Regions from separate parts of the Homo sapiens genome. Here region 2 is linked to region 1. The links are contacts of gene promoters, found by promoter capture Hi-C in blood cells and fetal thymus (Javierre and others, 2016). All regions are on one chromosome and are shown on one strand. The core of a region is centred on a gene start or on the middle of the fragment in contact, and the rest is flanking DNA. Distances in the headings are between cores, read along the strand shown. Region 1 holds the start of CHADL (chondroadherin like). Region 2 holds the start of ZC3H7B (zinc finger CCCH-type containing 7B).

Region 1 (7,014 bases), core at 1,144-3,643:
GAAGGCCATGGCGGGCAGGTAAACCAGGGCGTTGTGGGCCAGGTTTAGCGTGGCCAGCGCACCCAGTGCCCCGAACGTCCCCGGCCGCAGCTCCTCCAGTGCGTTCCCCTCCAGCTCCAGCCGCCGCAACGAGCCCAGCCCGTCCAGCGCCTCCTGGGGCAGCTCACGCAGGTGGTTGGAGGCCAGGTTGAGCAGGAGCAGGCGGCCCAGGCCACGGAAGGCGCCCTCGGCCACCAGCTCCACCTCGCAGTGGCGCAGGTCCAGGTGTGTGAGGTGAGGCACGCCCTGGAAGGCGGCTGCGGGGATCACCTTCAGCAAATTGCCCTGCAGGTCCAGCCGCTGGGTCAGCTGGGGACAGCGAGGAGAAAGTGGGGCTGAGCCAGGCAGGGACCCCGCCTTTGCAAGTGCTGCTTCTTCCCCGGAACACTCTTTTCTCCTGTCACCTTTCCCATATTTCTCTTCATCCGACCCCTGACACCTCCTCCAGGAAGCCTTCCTCTCCAGTGCCCTGGGCATCACCCACTGTGGCATTTTTCACACTGTGCTGTCCCTGCCTCCTCGCTCTCTCTCCTCCACTAGCTGATGACTCTGCAGAGCAGAGACCACACCTCACCCTGCCACAGCCCGCCTCTCCACCACAGGGTCTGCAGTGAATTCAGTATCGATCTATGGGTCACCTACTTATTCCATTCACACAGTAAGGATTTTAAATAGATCATCTCCCTGTTACTGGTTTTTATTATTCCCATTTTACAGAAGTGTAAACTGAGGCTCAAAGAGAAGTAATTTGCCAAGGTCTCCCGGGCAGGCGGTGGCAGATCAACTGGTGCCCAGCCCAGGCTCCTCCCTCTGGGTCCCCACCTTGCCCCACTGCCACTCTGTGCCTGTGCTCCTGCCCTGCTGACCTCAGGGATGGCGTCTGGCACCTCAGTGAGGTTCTGGTACCGGCAGGCAACGTGTCGCCTGGAGTTGTCACAGATGCAGGCCTGTGGGCAGCGCTGGGCGGCGGCCTGCCTAGCCGGGGCCAGCAGCAGAAGTACAAGAAGCGGCAGCACCAAGGGGACATGGGTGGAGCTCCGGGGCCTGGGACGGGGAGGGAGAGTCTGTTGTGCACAAGGGCCGAGGCCACATGCTGTCCCTCACTTAGTCCCAGCCATGGTGCAGCTCCTGCCCCAAAAACCCCTCAGAGCCTCCTCCTTTGGGCCCAGGAAAGTGCCAATCACCCTGAGCCTCCCTGCCCCCCACCCCCCACGCAGTGGAGGTCCTATGATTAGTCCTGTTTTACATGGGAGGAAACCGAGGCTCAGAAAAGTGACCTGGTTAGTCCCTTTGCCTCTGCCCAATGGCTCAGTGAGGACTTGCTGACTGTGAGAATGACTCCAGTTCAGAGCATGTTCTCAGGCTGTGGTGAGGCTCTGGTCCAGGGTAGGCTCGGAAGCAGCCTGTCCTCAGACTGATATGATGCCAGCTCCCAGGTGGCAGGAGCATAATGGTACCCCCCAGAAAGGAGGGAGGCATCCAGTCCGGGTCCTTGAGTCTTTTTTTGTTTGTTTGTTTAAATAGAGACAAGCCTTGCTCTGTTGCCCAGGCTGGAGTCTGGAGTGCAGTGGAATGACTATGGCTTACTGCAGCCTTCACCTCCTGGGCTAAAGTGATCCTCTCACCTCAGCCTCTTGAGTAGCTGGGACTACAGGCACACACCACCACGCCTGGCTAATTTTTTAATTACTTCTGGTAGAGACAGGGTCTCGCTATGTTGCCCGGGCTGGTCTTGAACTCCTGGCCTCAAGTGATTGTCCCACCTTGGCCTCCCAAAGCGCTAGGATGATAGATCACCTCCCCTGCCCAGCTGGCCCCTCTGTTCTCAGCCTGTGTCAGGCATGGCCTCTCCCCCATCGCTGGGCTGTTCCCCGGCCCCCAGGAGCCTCCCCCTCGCTGCTCACTGGACTATCGTCTGTTTTGGAGTCTCCTTTGGGTCCCAGGCTCCAGCCCCTGCGTTGGAGTTGGTGGCTTCTCCAGAGCCTGTGGTGAAGGCTGTGCCTCAGGGCAGGCCAGGGAGGGGACCCATGGGGACAGATCGCTGAAGCGACAAGCATTCATAATGCAGGGACCACTGCTGGGCTCTCAGACAAGCCCCAGAGGACCAGTTCCTGGCAGTGGCCACATTGCCACGTGTCTCAGAGCCCACCTTGGGAGACCCCCTTCCTGGAGAACCCCAGGAAGTCCCCAGAGCCCCTGCCCGCCAGCCTCTGAGAGGCCCAGAGGGGGCAGAGACTTACCTGAGGCCACTGAGCTGCTCTGAATCCCCCCTTGCACCATCGGGCCCAAAGACTCACCCCTCCATGCCGCCTGGAACTGCTGGTCCAGCCTGGAGGCGCAGCGCAGGGACAGGCTGTCCCCGCCTGGCAGGAGCCCCCCTCCACGGCCCGCAGGCCTGGCAGCTGGGACAGGGCTGAATGGGAGGCATTGTCGGCAGACCAGGCAAGCCAGGCTTCCCCAGGCTGAGGTGAAGAAGGGGCGGGCGGCGGGCGGGAGCAGCGGCTGGAGTTACAGGGCCTCCTGCCTGCCCCAGCCGAGGACTGAGGCCCCGGCCTGAATCCTTGGGCCAGCCCGACAGGGAGGGGGCACCAGCAGCTGGCCCGGGAGTCAGCAGTCCTGGGCTCCCTCCTGCCATGTGGGCTGCCCTCCCAGAGGCTGCTTCCTAGTCTCTGAAAAACACATCCCATTAATAAGTAGCTCTGAGGTCACAGTGGGGGTTCAGGCCCGCACCTGGCACACAGTGGGTGCTTCAGAACAGGTGACCCTTTCCTTCCGTTTGTGCTTACACATTGACATAAATAGTTTAATACTGGACACACAGGATTCTAGACACTCATTTTTTTCACTTAACCTCAGATTACTGGGAGTTATCCAAATTGACTCTTCCGAATCTCATTATTCTGTGGTATATAGTATTCCATTGTGTAAATGTATCACATTGACTTAGCCATTCATCTTGGACATTGGCTACCTCCAATTTTTTGCTATTTACAAACAATATTGCAAAGAATATCCAAATACGCATCTTCCCAAGCTCGTGTTTGTTTTTTAAATAATACATCCAGACCATGGCCAATGTTCATGTATCTTGATTTTTCAGATTCCTGCTTCTGATGGAATTGCATCTTCTACTGTTTGTTCCTTTAATTGGAAACAGGGGTCAGGCACAGTGGCTCATGCCTGTAATCCCAGCACTTTGGGAGGCTGAGGTGGGAGGATCACTTGAGCCCAGGAGTTTGAGACCAGCCTGGGCAACACAGACTCTGTCTCAAGAGAAAAAAAAAAGGCCGGGCGCGGTGGCTCACGCCTGTAATCCCAGCACTTTGGGAGGCGGAGGCGGGTGGATCACGAGGTCGAGATCAAGACCATCCTGGCTAACACAGTGAAACCCTATCTCTACTAAAAGTACAAAAAATTAGCCGGGTGTGGTGGCAGGCGCCTGTAGTCCCAGCTACTTGGGAGGCTGAGGCAGGCAAATGGCATGAACGCGAGAGCCGAGATGGCGCCACTGCACTCTAGCCTGGGCAACAGAGTGAAACTGTCTCAAAAAAGAAAAAAAATATATACATATATATATATATATATATATATATATATATATATATATATATATATATGTATGTGTGTGTGTATACACTTATGTGTGTATATATTTATATATAATAAAAATATAAATGTATATGTTTATATATATTTATATATGTTAAACAATGAACATCTGTGTGTACTTTTCCTAGACTGCAGGAGTTTTTTGTTTTTTGAGACAGAGTCTCACTTTATCGCCCAGGCTGGAGCTCACTGCAACCTCCACCTCCCTGGTTCATGCGATTCTCCTGCCTCAGCTTCCCAAGTAGCTGGGATGACAGATGTGTACCACCACATCTGGTTAATTTTTGCATTTTTAGTAGAGACGGGGTTTCGCCATGTTGGCCAGGCCGGTCCCGAACTCCTGACCTCAAGTGATCTGCCCGCCTTGATCTCCCAAAGTGCTGGGATTACAGGCATGAGTCACCACGCCCAGCCCTGCAGTAACATTTTAAAAAAAGAAATAGTGCCATGCCACACAGCCATCTGCTTTGTGCTTTTTTTGCTTGGCAAATTCCAATCAATGGAACTTCAGTGTGCTCTTTCGTCCTTTTTTTGAGACAGGGTCTCACTGTTGCCCAGGTGTGAGTGAAGTGTGATCATGGCTCACTGCGGCCTTGACATACCAGCCTCCCAAGCAGCTGGGACCTCCAGATATGCACCGCCACCTCCAGCTGGTTTTAAAATTTGTTGTAGAGTTGGGGTCTTGCTATGTTGTCCAGGCTGGTCTTGAACTCCGGGGCACAAGTGATCCTCCCACCTCGGCCTCCCAAAGCGTTAGGATTACAGGCATGAGCCACTGCACCTGGCTGTGTCTGGCGTTTTCCACTCAATATTATGTTAGTGAGAATCATCTTTTTATTTTTTTTTTGAGACGGAGTCTAGCTCTCGTTGCCCAGGCTAGAGTACAGTGGCGTGATCTCAGCTCACTGCAACCTCCGCCTCCCAGGTTCAAGGAATTCTGCTTCAGCTTCCCGAGTAGCTGGGATTACAGGCACCCGCCACCACACCCAGCTAATTTTTGTATTTTTAGTAGAGACGGGTCTCACCATATTGGCCAGGCAGGTCACAAACTCCTGACCTCAAGTGATCCGCCCGCCTCAACCTCCCAAAGTCCTAGGATTTACAGGTGTGAGCCCGCACCCGGCTTCATCTATTTTAATTTTTTTTTTAAATTCAGCATTCCAGCCTTCCATTCTATAAATATATGACAACAGTGGCATGGGGCAGGGGCGGGAGGCAGTCTGCCCACAATGCAGGCAGTAAGCGGGTGTGCTGTCAGTGGAGAAGTGAGACACAATGGAACTGACTTAAAGTTGGTCTCTGCTTTTTATTATCATGTGCTGACAAGTCTAAACAATGTCAATGCTAAAATATTTCTTCTTGGGCAGACCATTCCTACCTTCTCGGTACCACACCGTACCACAAGTAGCTTACCCATTCCTCTAGTGATAGACATTTGGGTTGTTTCCAGCATGGGTTTATTAGAAAGAGCACTGTAGCCGGGCATGGTGGTTCATGCCTGTTAAGTGAGCTGAGGCGGGAGGATCACTTGAGCCCAATAATTCAAGACCAGCCTGGACAACACAATGAGACCCTGTCTTTACAAAAAAAAGCTGAACGTGGTGGCTTGTGACATGGTCCCAGCTACTTGGGAGGCTGAGGCACGAAGACTAAGTGAGCCCAGGAGGTCGAGGCTGCAGTGAGCTGTGATCACACCACTGCACCCCAGCCTGGGTGACATGGCAAGACCCTGTCTCAAAAAAAAAAAAAAAAAAAAAAAAGGTTGTACCAATTTACACATCTGCCAGCCACTCCAGTTGCCCCAAATCCTCACCAAACTTGGTACTGTATTTTGTATTTTAGCCATTCTAGTGAGGGCATAAGAGTGTCACACTGTGATTATGTTTCTCTGGGAGGATCACCTGAGCCCGGGGGGTAGAGGCTGCAGTGAGCCGAGATAGAAGCTGGGCAACATGAGACCCTGTTTGAAAAAAATTAAAGTTATCCCCCCCACCCATATATATATACAGAGAGAGTTTAGGCAATTATTTTCTCCCTGTCTGTAAGTTGCCTTTGTACTCCTTAATGAGTATTTTGATAAACAGAAACCTGTTCTCACTGCTACATCATTTCCATTGTGTGAACATCCCACGATAATGGCAAAGGAGGTTAAATACAGCTTAATTTATTCATCTTTTCCTCACTCCTAAGGCCTTGAAGATACTCACTTACACTATCTCCTACAAGCTCTCTCTCTCTTTTTTGAGACAGGGTCTCGCTGTCAGTCATGCTGGAGTGCAGTGGCACGATCACGGCTTGCTGCAGCATCCACTTCTTGGGCTCAGGTGATCCTCCCACCTCAGGTTCCCAAGTAGCTGAGACTACAGGCATGCATCACCACACCCAGCTCATTTTTGTATTTTTAGTAGAGACAGGGTTTTGCCATGTTGGCCAGGCCAGTCTTGAATTCCTGGGCTCAAGTGATCTGCCCGCCTCGTCCTCCCAAAGTGCTAGGATTACTACAGGCGTGAGCCACCACACCCGGGTGAAGCTCTATAGTTTTGCTTAATTTTTAAAACATTAACTGAGGTAAAATATATTAATACATGAAATCTATCATTTTAACCATTTTTATGTGTACAATTCAGTGCATTAAGTACATTCACAATGTTATGCAACCATCACCACTCTCCATTTCCAGAACATCTTCATCATCCCAGAGAATCTGTTTGCAGCCTCACTCCCTATTCCACCCTTCCCCTAGCCCTGGCAACCTCTACCTTCTTGTCTCTGAATTTGCTTATTCTAGATGCCTCATCTAAATGGAATCATATTTGTCCTTTTGTGTCTGGCTTATTTCATTTAACATGTTTTCAAAGTTCATCCACGTTGTAGCTGGCATCAGAACTTAATGCCAGCCCCACACCCACCCCCTACCGTATCAACTCACACAGAAGACAGGGGACAGGGCCAGCAGTATCCTCTGCCACCTGGTCACCTACGTGGCCGACTGCCAATGAGAAAATATTGCCCTCTAAGAAACCTTGGAGGGACTTCTTGGAGGCCGTTTGTGGGGGACATGGGCTCCCAAAGCACATACATGGTGTAGGGTAGGAGGTAAGGAAGGTTGGCTGGGCTGTCCTCACATATGTGGCAGTGGAGCAAAGGATCCCAAGGGAGGTGGCTTCCATAGTGAAGGAGCAACGCAGAAGCCAAGCGAGCTGCAGCCCAAAGGCAGGGTGCTGGGTGAGGTGTGGCCAGGCAGGAAAATGGGCCCCCACTCAGGACTGCCACTTCCCAGGTAGTGGCCTGAGGCCGAGGCCGGGCCCTTCTGCAGGGCTGACTGCCCCACAGACTGCTGCGGGGCCGCATGCTCTGCCGAGGTGG
Region 2 (7,014 bases), core at 2,546-5,045, 61 kb after region 1:
GCCCAAGCTGGAGTGCAGTTGTGTGATCTTGGCTCACTCCAACCTCTGCCTCCCAGGTTCAAGCCATCCTCCTGGTTCAGCCTCCAGAGCAGCTGGGACTACAGGTGCACACCACCACGCCCAGCTAATTTTTTTTTTTCTTTTTTTGAGATGGAGTCTCGCTCTTGTCACCCAGGCAGGAGTGCAGTGGAACGATCTCGGCTCACTACAACGTCCGCCTCCTGGGTTCAAGCGTTTCTTGTTACTCAGCCTCAAGTAGCTGGGATCACAGGCGCCCGTGACCACGCCTGGCTGATATTTGTATTTTTAGTAGAGACAAGGTTTCCCCATGTTGGCCAGGCTGGTCTCGAACTCCCTACCTCAGGTGATCCACCCGCCTCTGCCTCCCAAAGTGCTGGGATTACAGGCATGAGCCACCGTGCCTGGCCACGCCCAGCTAATTTTTGTATTTTTAGTAGAGACAGGGTTTCACCATATTGGCTAGGCTGGTCTTGAACTCCTGACCTCGTGACCCACCCGCCTTGGCCTCCCAAAGTGCTGGGATTACAGGCGTGAGCCACAGCGCCTGGCCACACCTGGCTAATTTGTTGTTGTTGTTGTTTTGAGACTGAGTCTCACTCTGTTGCCCAGGCTGGAGTGCAATGGCGCGATCTCGGCTCACTGCAACCTCCACCTCCCAGGTTCAAGCGATTCTCCTGCCTTAGCCTCCTGAGGAGCTGGGATTACAGGTGCGTGCCACCACACCTGGCTCATTTTTGTATTTTTCGTAGAGATGGGGTTTCAACATGTTGGTCAGGCTGGTCTCAAGCTCCTGACCTCAGGTGATCCGCCCACCTTGGCCTCCCAAAATTCTGGGATTACAGGGGTGAGCCACCACGCCCGGCCTCGGCCTCCCAAAGTGCTGGGATTACGGGCATTAGCCACCACGCCCGGCCAATTTTTTGTATTTTTTGCAGAGTTAGGGTTTTGTCATGTTGCCCAGGCTGGTCTCAAACTCCTGGGCTCAAGCGATCTGCCCACCTCGGCCTCCTAGTGTTGGGATTTTGGGTGTACCCCATCGAGTACAGTACTCACATTACCCCCATCTTAGTCACCTCAGGCTGCTATGACAGATACCATGGACTGGATGGCTTAAGCAGTAGAAATTTATTTCTCACTGATCTGGGGGCTGGAAGTCCACGACCAGGGTCCCAGCATGGTCAGGTTGTTGGTGAGGGCCGCCTTCCTGGTTTATAGATGGCTGCTTTCTTGCTGTATCCTCACCTGGCAGAGAGAGATAATCTCCCCAGTGTCTCTTATAAGAGCACTAATTCCATTCATCAGGGCTTCATTTTCATGACCTAATTATCTCCCAAAGGCCCCACCTCCTAATACCATCAAATCAGGGATTAGAGATTCAACATATGAATTTTTTTTTTTTTGAGATGGAGTCTCGCTCTGTCGCCCAGGCTGGAATGCAGTGGCACGATCTCGGCTCACTGTAACCTCTACTTCCCAGGTTCAAGCCATTCTCCTGCCTCAGCCTCCCGAGTAGCTGGGACTACAGGCGCCCGCCACCATGCCTGGCTAATTTTTTGTATTTTTAGTAGAGATGGGGTTTCACCGTGTTAGCTGGGATGGTCTCGATCTCCTGACCTTGTGATCCACCCGCCTCGGCCTCCCAAAGTGCTAGGATTACAGGCCTGAGCCACCGCGCCCGGCCTAATTTTTGTATTTTTTTGTAGAGACAGGGTTTCACTACGTTAGCCGTGCTGGTCTCGAACTCCTAACCTTAGGTGATCCACCTACCTTGGCGTCCCAAAGTGCTAGGATTTCAGATGTGAGCCACCGTGCCGAGCTACAGGGTTTTTGAGAGGGTAAAAGAATCAACATATGCAAAGTGTTTGGCTCATAGTAAAGAAGCGGTGGCTGTTACTGCTATTTCAGCTTTAACATGGGGACATAGAGCACACTGTGACAACATGGGACTGACAACATGGGGCTTCCCAGAAAGCCTACCGATGCCAGCCTCCTGGCCCTTTTCTTTTTCTTTCTTTTTTTGAGACAGAGTCTCACTCTGTCGCCCAGGCTGGAGTGCAGTGGCATGATCCCGGCTCACTGCAAGCTACGCCTCCCGGATTCACGCCATTCTCCTGTCTCAGCCTCCTGTGTAGCTGGGACTACAGGCTCCCGACACCACGCCCAGCTTATTTTTTGTATTTTTAGTAGAGATGGGGTTTCACCGTGTTAGCCAGGATGGTCTCGATCTCCTGACCTCATGATCCGCCCGCCTCAACCTCCCAAAGTGCTGGGATTATAGGCGTGAGCTACCGCGCCCGGCCTCCTCCTGGCCCTTTTCTCCAAAGCATCCTCACCTCTGGTTGGGGTCTTGTAATAAAGACCCCTTTACCATCTTAGGCAGCCCAAACAATTGAACAAGTTGGTACCAACTTGAAGAGATAAGAGGCTGGTGTCCTGCTGAATCCCCCTTGAATGATGGACAGTCCTCTTCAAGAATATGTGTTCATTATTTCACCAGCAACCTGGGGTGGTGGAATCACCAGACCATTTGCCATCTAGTTCACTTGAGGCAAAATGCAGCAATCCAACTGGCCTCAGCATCCTCATCGATGAAATGAGAGTGATAATAACCATGGTGGTAAATGTGATAAGTTGTCAAGGGTGTTTCATTGTAAATTGCCTAGGGGGTATTGGGAACTCACACACACACACACACACACACACACACACACACACACACACACACACACATATATTTCTGGAGACAGTTTTGCTCTTGTTGCCCAGGCTGGAGTGCAATGGCATGATCTTGGCTCACTGCAACCTCCACCTCTGGGGTTCAAGTGATTCTCCTGCCTCAGCCTCCTGAGTAGCTGGGATTACAGGCACCCACCACCACGCCTGGCTAATTTTTGTATTTTTGTAGAGATGGGGTTTCACCACGTTGGCTAGTCTGGTCTTGAACTCCTGACCTCAGGTGATCCACCCGTCTTGGCCTCCCAAAGTGCTGAGATTACAGGCGTGAGCCACTGCACCCAGCCCTGATTGTCAATATCTAATCAGGTTCCTCATTTTCCACCATTCCCCAGGTGATGTCTGATCACCTTGCCCTGCCTTCAGCAAGAATCTTGTTAGATGGGTTTAAGCGAGAATCCTCTCATCTCTGATGCAGTTTCCTATGCACTGGCGCTCAATCAGTGGATCCTTTCTCCTTCCTCATAAATTCCCAGTTGCCCATGCTGATTTCTGAATTGAGCCCAAATACTCTCCCTGACCGCAAAACCCACTGCAGTGGTCCCTACACCCATCATGATGCCAATAAAGTCGGCCTTGTAGTCTTTAACAAGTGTCATTCAATATTTTTTTTAACATCCTATACATAAAACTCCAGCCAAGTGAGGTCCTGATTCTTCTATGTGTCTCCGGTTCCCATCTATGAGAAGGGCACAACGCAACCAGGGTTTTGGGCAGCCTTCCATGAAAGCACCTGGAAGCCGGAGAAGGGGGGCGGGGGGACTTTTGACACAGATGGGGAAGGGCGGAGGCGCTGGGTTTGAGCAGCATCAGCCCAGAAATGCAGAACTGCCAAAAGAAACCCCCCTAAAAGGCAGGACACTTTTAAAGAAAATAAAGGTGAATTCCAGGCATGAGCTTTCGACGGGGAATGGGGCTTCCCCGACTCGCCCCCACGCCCCCCGCCCTTCTCCCCAGGTGCGCAGCCCGCGCCGCCCACCCCGGGCGCGGCGAGGCGACGGGAGCCGAGCTCTCTAGGACCCGAGGAGGAAGAGCTGCAGGGAGACAGTGCCTCCAGCGGGTGCTGCCGCGAGCGGCCAGCCGAGGGGCTGGAAATGAAAGTAAAGCGCTCCAGAGCCACATGGACGGAGCTGCCGGGGCGGCGGCGCCGGGAGCAGGATGCGGCCGCCCGTAATTAAATAGCATTTACTCTTATTATTACTAATAATAATAACGTAATCATACCTCTAGTCATAGCATACCATTTATCGGGCTCGGCGCAGGCCCGCGGGGAGCGCAGCCCGGCGGAGGTGAGTGCTTGGCGCGGCCCGAGCCCCGCGGGGCAGAGGCCGGGGACACTGCGTCCGGAGCCGCCCGCGCGCGAGGGTTCGGGGACGCCCGGGCCGGGCAGGGCTGGGGAAGAGGCGAAGAGAGCCCTTTCCAGGCCGGGGCCGCGCGCCGGGCCACCTGGAAAGTGGGATTTTGCAAAAAATAAATCGTCTCTAAAACCCCATTTGCTCCTTTTTGGGGATCCCGGTCCCCGTGCCCTGCCCCAAAGTTTAAAAGTTACCGTGTGGCCGGGGGCACCTGGCGCTGGGGAGACTTGGCCGCCCCTGCAGCCCCCAGGAGGTGTCTTGAAATTTTCGTGGGGCCTCTCTCTTCGGCGTCCGGAGCTTCTGGGGTGTCCAGATGCTTTGCCGACCCCGCGCAGGGGGTCTCGGGGGCTGGCAGGGGCGTCGCTGGCAGGGCCCCCCTTCCTTTTGTGTTGTCCTTGGCCCCGCAGCACCCGGAGTTGGAGGGGCCGCGGCGAGGGCCGGGGAGCGGGGCCGCCCGACGGGCCGCCCCTTTCGGCTGCGGCGGCCACGCGAGCCCGGGGATCCGGGGCCTGCAGCCGGGCCCGCGGGAAGGGGGCGGCAGGAAAGGGGGGCGCGGTCTGGGCCTGCTGGGCAGGGGGGCGTTTCCGGTCGCAGGATCAGTCTCTGGACTTCGAGGCCTGTGGGAGGCCCGCGGCCGTCCAGGGAGTGCTAGGGGGCTGCGGACCCCGGCTCTGGCGCCTGGGGACGGGGGCGCCCTGACGGGGCTGGGGGCCTGGGAGCCGCCGACTCCGGCCTCATACCCCCATCCTGCCCGCTGCGAACCTCAGGGCCCCCCTCCGGGTTTGCTCCCTCCTCCTTTCCCCTCCTTTCTCCTCAACTCTGTCTGTTTTAGGCGTTTATAAGGCGCCTGGTTGGGGGGACTTTCACAGACAAAGCCGTCTTCCCAGGGGGGAAAATAATCATATAAAAACAGCTCACTCTGATAGAACCTGATGGCTGTATTGCCAACAGGGCATTGACGGGGAAGACTAGGGGGCTAGGGCCCTGCGTGGGGAGTCTGGGGGCTCTAAAAGGGGGCTGGGCCTGAGTGGGGAGCTGGTGATCAGCGGTTTTATTTCTCGGGTTGCTAGCTTTGGCATCAGACTTTGAACCCCAACTTCTTGCCATATTCCTCAGCATCTGCAGTTCAGCCTGATGAAAATAGCAGAATGCAGATCCTTGAATTTTCACACAAATGAGATAATTATAGTACATGTAGCAACTGTGTTGGACACAAAATGCTGGCAGAATCTTTAGTTCTACTACCAATACTTCCTCTACACACATACAGCCATCCCCTCCGTGGTGGTCTTCTTTCCCCGTGTCCACCTCCCACAGAAGTTGGACTGCAAGGTGGAAATGACACCTGGTCAACAGTTGGATGGAGCATGTTTGAGAAGTGGGGAGACTTAAGGTGGGAAGAAAGAACCTGTCCAGGAGGGATGAGATCTGAGGATGGGAGAGAGACTTTGTTGTCCCTGAGCTGGGATAAAGTTTCTGTTCTGTAGATGCTGTGTGTTCTTAGCTGCTGGCTTTTGTATAGGTTAGACAGGAATGGGGGTTTTGGTAGATTATTGTGGGGCTTAGAAGCTTGGTGGGATGTGCTGATCTCTCGAGTCTTAGTAGGAAAGCTGAGATGTCGGTTGAGACATGGATAGAGAATCTGAAAATAATCCCTCAATCTGAAAATAATAATCCCTCAAATATCACTTTTTAGTTTATAACAAAAGGGCTTTCACATGTGTTGGCTCATCTGTCCTCCATAGCAACTGTGTCAGGTAGACATTTTCTAGATAAGAAACCTTAGGCCGAATTGTGTGTCTTGCTGGAAAGTCAGACAGCAGAGGTAGGATTCCCACCCAGTTTTCTGGCTCCAAATCGTCACCCTTTCCCAGAGTCCTGGGCCACCTTAGCAAGTTACTTTTCATTTATTTTATTTTATTTTATTTTACTTTTTTGAGACGGAGTCTCGCTCTGTCGCCCAGGCTGGAGTGCAGTGGCGCGATCTTGGCTCACTGCAAGCTCCGCCTCCCGGGTTCACGCCATTCTCCTGCCTCAGCCTCCTGAGTAGCTGGGACTACAGGCTCCCGCCACTACGCCCAGCTAATTTTTTGTATTTTTAGTAGAGACGGGGTTTCACCGTGTTAGCCAGGATGGTCTTGATCTCCTGACCTCGTGATCCAGCCACTTCGGCCTCCCAAAGTGCTGGGATTACAGGCGTGAGCCACCATGCCCAGCCTTCTTTTTATTTTTTGAGACAAGGTCTCACTCTGTCACCCAGGCTGGAGTACAGTAGCACAATTGTAGCTCAGTCTGCCAGGCTCAGGCAATCCTCCTGCCTTGGCCTCCCAAAGGGATAGGGTTACAGGCATGAGCCACCACACCTGGCTGCTGCAAGTTTCTTTCTTTCTTTCTTTCTTTTTTTTTGACAGAGTCTCACTCTGTTACCCAGGCTGGAGTGCAGTGGCATGATCTTAGGTCACTGCAACCTCTGCCTCCCGGGTTCAAGTGATTCCTGGGCTCAACATATCTGAATTCAAGTGAACTCCTGGGCTCAACATATCTACCCACCTCGGCCTCCCAAAGTGCTGGGATTACAGGCGTGAGCCACCTCATGCCTGTCTGCAAGTTACTTTTCAAGTGCCTCTTGTGAGATGCTGTGGGGCAGGTTTGCAATTGACTTTGTCATTTATTATCTGGCTGGAAAGAGAAAGTTGATTCTAGTGAACCAATGAGAACACAAGAATTCTGGGGTCAGTGCAGTGGGAGTGGAGAGAAGACAGCTCAAGGCTACCTGGAAAAGTTAGAGAAGGCTTCTTCTAGGAAGTAGAATTTGAACTTCAAAGAATGGGGAGGCTTGCCAGGGTGGAGAAGAAGGGAATTTCTGGGTTAGCCACAATTGCTTCTGTGCTGGGAAGTTGACTTA

The links. Contacts are between HindIII fragments. The CHiCAGO score rates a contact against its expected background, and 5 or more counts as called.
Region 2: the fragment with the promoter of ZC3H7B here is called in contact with the fragment with the promoter of CHADL in region 1 in 3 of 17 cell types (erythroblasts, M0 macrophages and naive CD8 T cells); the score reaches 8.1 in erythroblasts.

Annotation. Positions count from the first base shown.
Region 1 is chr22:41,238,538-41,245,551 of GRCh38, forward strand. It overlaps CHADL (chondroadherin like), which reads right to left and starts at 2,394. Exons shown (of 6, transcript NM_138481.2): 1 at 2,337-2,394; 2 at 906-1,083; 3 at 1-348. The coding sequence starts at 2,344. It overlaps RANGAP1 (Ran GTPase activating protein 1), which reads right to left. Exons shown (of 16, transcript NM_002883.4): 16 at 6,242-7,014. RefSeq lists enhancers at 1-547, 1,997-2,497, 2,498-2,998. The HindIII fragment of the contact is 52,914 bases long and covers 1-7,014 here.
Region 2 is chr22:41,297,730-41,304,743 of GRCh38, forward strand. ZC3H7B (zinc finger CCCH-type containing 7B) reads left to right here and starts at 3,796. Exons shown (of 23, transcript NM_017590.6): 1 at 3,796-4,043. It also overlaps a transcript of RANGAP1 not described here. RefSeq lists silencers at 3,483-3,822, 4,103-4,172 and an enhancer at 3,904-4,405. The HindIII fragment of the contact is 7,155 bases long and covers 1-5,676 here.